Regions from separate parts of the Homo sapiens genome. Here region 1 is linked to region 2. The links are contacts of gene promoters, found by promoter capture Hi-C in blood cells and fetal thymus (Javierre and others, 2016). All regions are on one chromosome and are shown on one strand. The core of a region is centred on a gene start or on the middle of the fragment in contact, and the rest is flanking DNA. Distances in the headings are between cores, read along the strand shown.

Evidence for each region. Contacts are between HindIII fragments. The CHiCAGO score rates a contact against its expected background, and 5 or more counts as called.
Region 1: a contact is called between the fragment with the promoter of FAM178B here and a fragment that was not itself captured in region 2, in 2 of 17 cell types (naive CD4 T cells and erythroblasts). The highest score is 6.0, in naive CD4 T cells.

Annotation. Positions count from the first base shown.
Region 1 is chr2:96,984,499-96,988,565 of GRCh38, reverse strand. It overlaps FAM178B (family with sequence similarity 178 member B), which reads left to right and starts at 1,986. Exons shown (of 17, transcript NM_001122646.3): 1 at 1,986-2,325. The coding sequence starts at 2,253. RefSeq lists enhancers at 1,908-2,428, 2,429-2,949. The HindIII fragment of the contact is 31,542 bases long and covers 1-4,067 here.
Region 2 is chr2:96,593,776-96,598,358 of GRCh38, reverse strand. KANSL3 (KAT8 regulatory NSL complex subunit 3) reads left to right here. Exons shown (of 21, transcript NM_001115016.3): 21 at 2,728-4,583. The coding sequence ends at 2,748. Among named protein-coding and RNA genes, the nearest start is that of KANSL3, 42 kb to the left of the region's middle. The HindIII fragment of the contact is 1,832 bases long and covers 864-2,695 here.

The DNA.
Region 1 (4,067 bases), core at 737-3,236, 390 kb before region 2:
ACCGTGCCCAGCCACCCAACCTTTAATTTGCAGACTCAAGGACGTGAATGCCTAACTCCCTTGTTGCTACCCTCGTTGGGGGCTTCTTTAAAACCAATGAAACCAACTGAACCCCTTCTCATAGGAGCACTCTCAAAAGCCCAGCTGACCACCATAACACACCATAGTCCAGAGAATCCAGGACATTGCCAGCTGGGTGCATCTCTCTAGGATAAAAACTGTTTCCCTTACGTTTCCACAGGACTCTACATCAACAACTAAAAATTAAAAATCCTTTTGTAAGCCTATAGAAGACCTAACATTCATTTTCAAGAAAAGATGCCAACACCCCAAATAAAGAGATTAATATTACTTTAACATAAGGTAGTCCCATCTCAGGTCTCCTATTTGTAGGAGCTCTTTTTGTTCTTCTGCTTGCTGAATAATGATGTGATGCTTCATTCTGCTACCTTTCATGGGACCTACAATAGCCATCTTATTACTACTGACCTTTGGTCCTTGCTTGTTTAAGCTCCTTTAAAGTCTGTGTCTTCTAGGTTACAACAATTCCTAGATTGATAGTTATGCAAGGATTTCAACTTATCCCAGTGGAGGATATGACCCCTATCACTTTAAATCAGGCAAGAAGAGACTTTCGGGCCCTGGTCCTGTCTCAGCACGAAGCAGCTCCAGAAAAAATGACCCAGCCCTCCACATTTCATAAGAACATGGACCCAAAGTCTCTGAGGGGGAAAATGAGGTCGGTTAGATACAGTGGTCATAGCCTCCTTTAAAGGGGAATGAACTTGCCAGATTGATGTAGAGAACAAACCGCCCACTGGTGCATAAACTGCATCAGGCTCCTAGTTAGAACATCCTGCAGCGAAGAGGATGAACAGCAGAAGGGAAAATCCCCAAATTCACACAAGTGCAGAAACCCATGATTAGAGTGTCCTTGGAATGACCTATGCTCATTTTAATGCTAAAAAACACACCCCTGGGTGAGGAATTAAAATGCTAATGAGACATGTGATGTGGTGTACTAGCACGCACATGCACATCTGGGAGACCCCGTAACATGCTTAACAGTAATGCCCATTCCCGCTCCTTTATGAATAATTATGTAAATCTCCCATAAAGGGAAGCTCATCACTGCCAAACAGACACAGCTATCTCACACGTGTGTGTGTGTGTGTGTGTGTGTTAGAGATGGGGGCTTGCTCTTTCGCCAGGCTGGAGTACAGTGCCACGATCTCGGCTCACTGCAACCTCTGCCTACGCCTCCCAGGCTCAAGTGATCCTCTCACCTCAGCCTCTGAAGTAGTTGGGGCTACAGGCACTGCACCACTATGCCCGGCTTTTTTTTTTTTTTTTTTTTTTTTTTTTTTTTTTTTTTTTTTTTTTTTTTGAGACGGCGTCTTGCTCTGCTGCCCAGGCTGGAGTGCGGTGGCGCGATCTCGGCTCATTGCAACCTCCACCTCCCTGGTTCAAGCAATTCCCCTGCCTCAGCCTCCCGCGCAACTGGGATTACAGGCGCACGCCAGCCACCAAGCCCGGTTAATGTTTTTTAATTTTTAGTAGAGACAGGGCTTCACCATGTTGGCCAGACTGGTCTGGAACTCCTGACCTCAGGCAATTCGCCCGCCTCGGCCTCCCAAAGTGCTGGGATTACAGGCGTGAGCCACCGCGCCCTGCCCACGCCAGGCTAATTTTTGTATTTTTAGTAGAGACGGGGTTTCGCCATGTCGCCCAGGCAGGTCTCTCACTCCTGGGCTCAAGCAATCGTCCCGTCTCAGCCTCCCAAAGTGCTGGGATTATAGGCATGAGACACCGCGCCAGGCCACTGTCTCACTGTCTTGGTAAATGCAAGCTACTACAAGTGCGCGTGACCCAGGACTGCCTGGGGGCAGGAGCTTCCGCCAGCCAATTCCCGCGCACGTGGATGCGCACGTGGAGGGCGAGCAGGAAGAGGGCGCGCACGTGGAGGGCTAACAGGAAGAGGGTGCGCACTTGGCCGGCGAGCTCCCCAGCTGGCGGCGGCGGCGGCTGTGAGCTGGCCGCTTGGTTTGGAGTCGGAACTCAATCCCCAGAACTGGATCTTTAGGTTCCACGTTGGCGGCCCTGGATCTAGGGACGCAACTCTTGGGGTCCTCCCACTGCGCCGCCTGGGGAGCCTGCTCCTGCTTCCTTTCCCGGCTAGCTGGCCCCGTCCTCTGAGGCCGTGCGAATTCCCGCCACCCTCCCTCACCCCGGAGCCCTGCCCTTCCCGCCCTATGTGGCCAAGGCTTCCAGGTGCGGGCCTCGCTCCACAACTCAGGAGGCAGGATCAGCGGCTCCATTTTACAGGTAAGGAAACTGAGGCCGAGGAACCGCAGGGGCGCGTGGTTAGCGCTCAGAGAGCACTCGACTTCCCTGGGACTCCTGGCTGGTCCAGGCCTTGCAGGTCAGCCCCGGTGCGGCCGCCGGGCTACTCTGGCGCTTTTCAGGTTCCTGCGACCCCGCGTGGTTCGGGTTCCGACGTGAGCCGGGCCCTCCTCTCCACAGGCCACTGCGCGGCCGGCCTTGGTGGGGTGGAACCTTAGATTGGTTTGAGAACTGGTTTATGTTTTGGTTGATGTGGCATGTTTTGTTTTGATTTTTAATGTTCCCCAGGGTGCAAAGGGTAGCTGGTGTTTTCTTTCCAGAAAGGCTTTCTATTCCCAGCCCCTGCCCGGTTTGATGGATGTGGAGTTTATGATGCTGGAGACCGTTTTCTTTGTGGGTAGAACGCATCTCCTTTCATCTTTCAAATTGTGAGCTCAGTCCTTGCTGACAGGAGCCGCTGCTCTCGCCAGCATTCCCAAGCTATTAAATATTTGTTTAAAAGGATGGATATAAAACATGATGTTAGGAATAAGGCGTCTTGAAAAAGCAGTATTCGCAGAAACAGCACCATTGTAATATTCTGAATTCATCTTGGCTCTTTTGACATCAGGGCCCAAAGCACTTGGGATTCCGTAATTATTTGGCCTCATGCTACACTTTAAGACAGATTATTTTATTTTTCTTGTAGTCAGGAAAGTAAAAGAACAAAAAAACTGAGATGACATGTTGAAATCTCACTGCGAGGACGCGAGGGAGGATGAGGGAAGCGGGGAGGGCGGCTGAACGCTAAAGGCTGGGGCTGGGGTTTGCAGGATTCGGGGAGACAAGAGCCCAGGCAGAGGGATGTGCTGGGCAGAGGGGGCGCCATCCATGGGCTGCATTGTAGAGTGAGCATGGCCAAGTCAAGGAGCTGAACAAGACGACTTCAGTCCTGAACCTGGAAAGAATGTGAGATGGAGGAGAAACAGGTCCTGGCTGGCGGGTATTGGGCCCCAGGAGGGAAAGAGATAACAAAGTTAAGTTTGGAGACTAACGCTGTCTCCTGTTTGACTGGGGGGCCTTCATATCCCCTCCCACGCTGTCAGGACACGTACTGTAGGCACTGGAGCAGGTCACACCAACTAGAATGATCGGTTTCCATCCATTCCGGGATGCATTTTTGTTCACATTTTAGCAGCTCTGAAGTTGGGCTGGGTCCCACAGTTTGTGTCTTTCTTTGTGTCATCGTTCACTTGGCAGCTTTTTGTCGGTCTTAGTGGCACAGAAAGTCACAGTGCCTTAAACCCAGCAGCATCTTAGCTGTGATGAAGGAGTCAGCCATGGCCTGAGTCCAGTAACTGCAGGATCCAGAGTTGGAGACGCAGGCAGAGAAGATGACCCACCTCAGCCTGCACCCTTTTGTTGTTTATGTCTTTGTCTTTGAAAGTGCTTGTTTCAAGGCATGTGAGGGAGGGGATTGGCAAAAGCAAAAACCTGGAAACAACAGATAGACAAATGAAAAATGTGTTACTTTGTGGTTGGGAGAGGGAAGAAACAGCTGGTAGCTGCATCTCCCTTCCAGGTAAAATTGGAATGCCATATAATCACTGGTAGATAGCACCTTTGAGTGAAAGGCATTTTGCAGCAGCTAGAGTCAGCTGCCCACTGAGCAGGCAGCCCTGGCCCAAGAGCCTCATAAGCAGCCAGCCAGTCTGAATACGCTGATTGGGCCAGTGAGCCCCAGG
Region 2 (4,583 bases), core at 530-3,029:
TCTTCCCCTCCACCCCCTACTTCTGTGTGTGTGCTTTCCTTTGTCTAGTTATGTAAAAGGGGTAATTCAATCCTTGTAGAATGAGATGGGAAGTGCTTTTCCCCTCTCATACTCTAAAACAGTTTTATAGTACAGAAATGATAGTTCCTTGATGGGTTGATAGAAGTGACCTACAAAGCCATTTGGGCCTGTTTTTAGGGTGTCTTCGTTTGCTGATGCCATGTTGATGGACAACTAGAACACAGATCCTGCCACGTGATCCCTTCCTCCTGTGTTAGGTAATCCGTCTCAGCTTGCCATGGCCTGGGCCAGCCAGTTACCATTGAGAAGAGAGTAGAGGTCATTGAGAATCCCCCTTTTCTGGAGCTCAGTTGAAGCACAGAATAAAGATCAAGGTCTGGCCTTCTAACTGATGATGTTAACATGAGATTAGTTTTCATCTTAATAGAATGGACGTAGGCTGGGCATGGTGGTTCACGCCTGTAATCCCAGCACTTTGAGAGACCTAGGCGGGTGGATCACGAGGTCAAGAGATCGAAACCATCTTGACCAAAATGGTGAAACCCCATCTCTACTAAAAATACAAAAATTAGCTGGATGTGGTGGCGTGCACCTGTAATCCCAGCTACTTGGGAGGCTGAGGCAGGAGTATTGCTTGAACCTGGGAGGCGGAGGTTGCAGTGAGCTGAGATTGTACCATTGCACTCCAGCCTGGGCAACAGAGCCAGACTCTGTCTCAAAAAAATAAAATAAATAAATAAAATAAAGTGGATATGTAATTGCTAGGAGGAGTCAGGTGGTGATTCTTTTCCAACAAGCAAGGGGATGTTATTAGATTAAGGCTTCTTGCTGATTCAGAAGCTTCTAATAGCTCTGTTCAGATTGCCAGACAGAGCACTGGACTATGGGTCAGGTCATCTGTTTTCAGCCAGCTGTGTGATCCTGGGCAAATCACCTATCCTTCTGGGCTTTGGTTTTCTTACCTGGTTTAGAGAGGAAGTTGACTTAATTCAGTGACTGTTGTGGTGGCAGGATCAGAATCTCCTCAGGCTTTGGAAACCGACGTTTTTTAATGCTTAGAAACAAACTACCCATTTTTTTGACATTTATGAGGCAATTGGAAATTTTAACACTGACTGGATAGTTGTTGATATTACGGAATTGTTAACCTTTTTAATGTGTGATAATGGTATTGTTAGGATTTTAAAACAGTCATTTTTTATTTTGGGGTTCCATACTGCAATATTTTTGGATGGAATGAATTTAAAAAGAAAAGTGAACACCAACTAGACTTCTCTAAGATCTGTATAAGCACTTAATTATCTGTTTTGTTTCTGGCACTGATTGGTGTTTACTATGTGTTTCCTTCATGGGAATGGACTATTGTGTACTCATCACAGCTGAGAAGCTGCAGGGAGGAAGAGGACAGACAGAGACTATGTTGTGCCCTGCATCAGGGTCCAAAAAATGGACTCCCTGCCTGTGGTTATAAGTTCTCTCTCCTCTCTGTCCTGCTGGCCATACCAGGACCTTGTCAGCCTGGCAAGCAGCACCTCTAGCTGGAGGCCTCTGGCAGTGGGCCTCACTGTAGCCTTGTAGCAGGCTGTGGGCAAGCTGGCTCACTCTAAGGTGTATTCATAATCAGAACAGAGTGATCATCTGTGTACAGCCCTGCCTTTGGGCAGGGAAGCCCATGAGGTTTTGTTTTTGTTTTTGATTGAGATGGGGTCTTGCTATATTGCCCAGGTTGGTCTGGAACTCTGGGCTCCAGCAGTCTTCCCACCTCAGCCTCCCAAAGTGCTGGGATTGAAGTCATGAGGTTTGATTGTCAAACTCCTCTTCATTGGTGTGATTATGGCTCACTGCAGCCTCAACCTCTTGGGCTCAAACAATCCTGTGGCCTCGGCCTCCCGAGTAGCTGGGCCTATAAGGCATGCAGCACTATGCTCACCTAATGTTTGAAAAAATTTTGTAGAGATGGGCTAAGTTGCCCAGGCTGGTCTTAAACTTCTGGGCTCAAGCAGTCCTCCTGCCTGGCCTCCCAAAGTGTTGGGATTATAGGCATGAGCCACCTCGCCTGGCCTTCCCTCCTTTACTACATTCTCAGAGACCTCTTAGGAGTTTCCCAAGGGGGAAATTTAGAAAAGTGGGGAAAGCGTTGGTAAAAAAGGCCACCCTCTCTACTTGCTTCCTTATTCTTAAGCTGCAGGGCTCAACATTGATGGCATCCCCCCACACCTACATGTCTAAGGCCTCAAAATCAGAAGTCACGGAAATCTTCCCTTCTGTTCTGTTGCCCTTAAAAACTCACCTATTTCCTTTTTTCTGCATTCCTTTTCTGTCTTCATGTGTAATAATATGAGGTGACCTTTGTTGTTGAGCACAGATTAAACTCAGGAGCTTTATGTGGATTATTTCATTTAATCCTTACGGTGACCCTGGAAAGTAGATGCTGTCATCTACCTCTTACAGGCGAGGAAAAGGAGGCTCAGAGAACATAGGCACTTGCCTTAAAAAGTGGAAAGTTGAGTCTCTCACTCTAGAGTCCATGTTCTGTTAACCACTTGGCAGCTAGAACATGTGTCCTTGTGTATCCAACTTCTTTCCTATTGAGAATTAATTCTTTAAAATAAATTCTCAGGAGTTGGGATAATTGGGATAGAGGGTCTGAATATGATGATAACCTGTCAAAGCTTTGACCCTTCTTCACTACCTCTCCTGCCACAGCGCCTGCCTCCAGCACCCTGAAGATGCTGTGTGATATGTCCTCCTTACCAAGTTGGTGATGGCTGCCTCATGGTGGGCCCTGGACAGGTGTGTGGTCCTGCTGAGCTGTCCACGTGTCGGAAGACCTGTTTAAGACAGTCATTTTTGCCTCTCCGCCAACTGTCTTCAGAGAAACCATTAGGTTAGGTGATACGGTGCCAGCAAGGGAAGCACCATCGTCCAGGATCTGCAAATCTGGTTCCTGGGAACCCCAGACTCCTCAGCAGATCTGGCTGTACATGGATCAGAACCACTTCTTCCCCCGCTTAAGCTGTGGTTTGACCCAAGGGTCAGCATATAGGACTGCCTGCTGCATTTAATGAAGGTGTTTCCTTTTGGAAGTCTGTGCTACCCTCTGCGCCTAGTTGGGAGGAGACATCCATCTGGTCTGGGATTTCGGGAGTTAGAATGGAAAGCTCTTTGCTAAAGACTGGAGTCATCCTGGCCTGCCAACTGGTGGTTCAGAGCCGGACGGGCTTGTTTTGGACATCACTGTTGCCTTCACTCAGCAGCCACGGGAGAGTGCTCCCCATGCAACTCCACCTTAGAAACCACGTCAGATACTGAGTAGCTTGCTGACTCCTGGAAACTTCTGGTTTTTGTTAGTATCATAATGAAGGCAAAGAGAACTAGGCTGTCATCTTTCAGCCTCTTTGACTTACTCTAGATGTTGGGAGCAGTGGTTGCCAGGTGAAACCTGGGCCCTTTGTCTTTTTCACCATGCTTTGGGCAGTTTCTGTATCCAGAGAGTCCGCAGGTTCAGATAAGCTGAAGAAGAGTAATAGAACAGCAAAGGAAGTGGCTTGAAGGATGTGCTAGTAAGCCCTGTGGTTTGTGCTTAGGTCTCTGCTCTGCTACCCAAGGAACTGGTGGTTCAGCTGGAGATAAAAAGAAGAATTTGCCAAGTCAGAGAAGAAACCCCAACCCCGGAAAATCCTCTGTCTCCAGTCTCTGGAGGTGAAGCAGGGACAATAAGCTAAGGTAGTATCTTGGCCATCCCAGGAAACTTGTGGCATTAGGACGATGAAGGCCATGCTTCAGTGTTTTCGTTTCTATTTCATGAGACTTTTTGTCTTCCTGCTTACAAGTGGGAAGATGATTGACAGTGACTCTACTATGCAGGGCTGTTGGTACCAACCTGAGCCCTATAGGTGGCAGTCCCTGGAGAAGTGGTCACAGAAGATGGAGCTCTGATCCCCTGCTTACCTCTTCACAACACTTGTGTGCAAAGATAGTTTTAGATTTGGTTTAGAAGCTATCCTCCAGAACAGGCTCCCATACTTAGAATGTTTCTAGTTAAGGTAATAAATTAGGCAACCCAAGTGTGACTCCACTCAAGTGTCCTTTTCTGTAGGCAGGAAGGGCCCACAACATGGCTTAAAATGTAGTCCATGGTTCTGGCCCACAGTACAGTGTGTATCTATACCAGGTCACCTGTGTTCAATCTGGGAGCCTTCCTGGCCAGTCTGAGTGGCAGCCAGAAGGGAGCTCATAGTGTCTAGGAGTCTCAGGCAAGGTAGGTCAGGGTACTGTGGGCAGGGGGGATGTGTGTGATAGGAGAGGGTACCCTAAACCCCATACCTTCCCTCCCTGACCTGAAAAGCTGATCTCAACAGGGATTCACACAGAATTAGGCTGTGTTTTTGCATTAGCTGGTAGGTGACTTTCTCAAAATTCTTAAATTCAGAAAGTATTTAGTAAACTTGAGGAAGGTATGAAATCTGGAGGAGGCATCCAGGACCCAGGGGTTTGATAGCTTTACAGGTAGGATCATACCACACCAAAAGAGCAGTGGACAATAAGACTATATGAGCTAT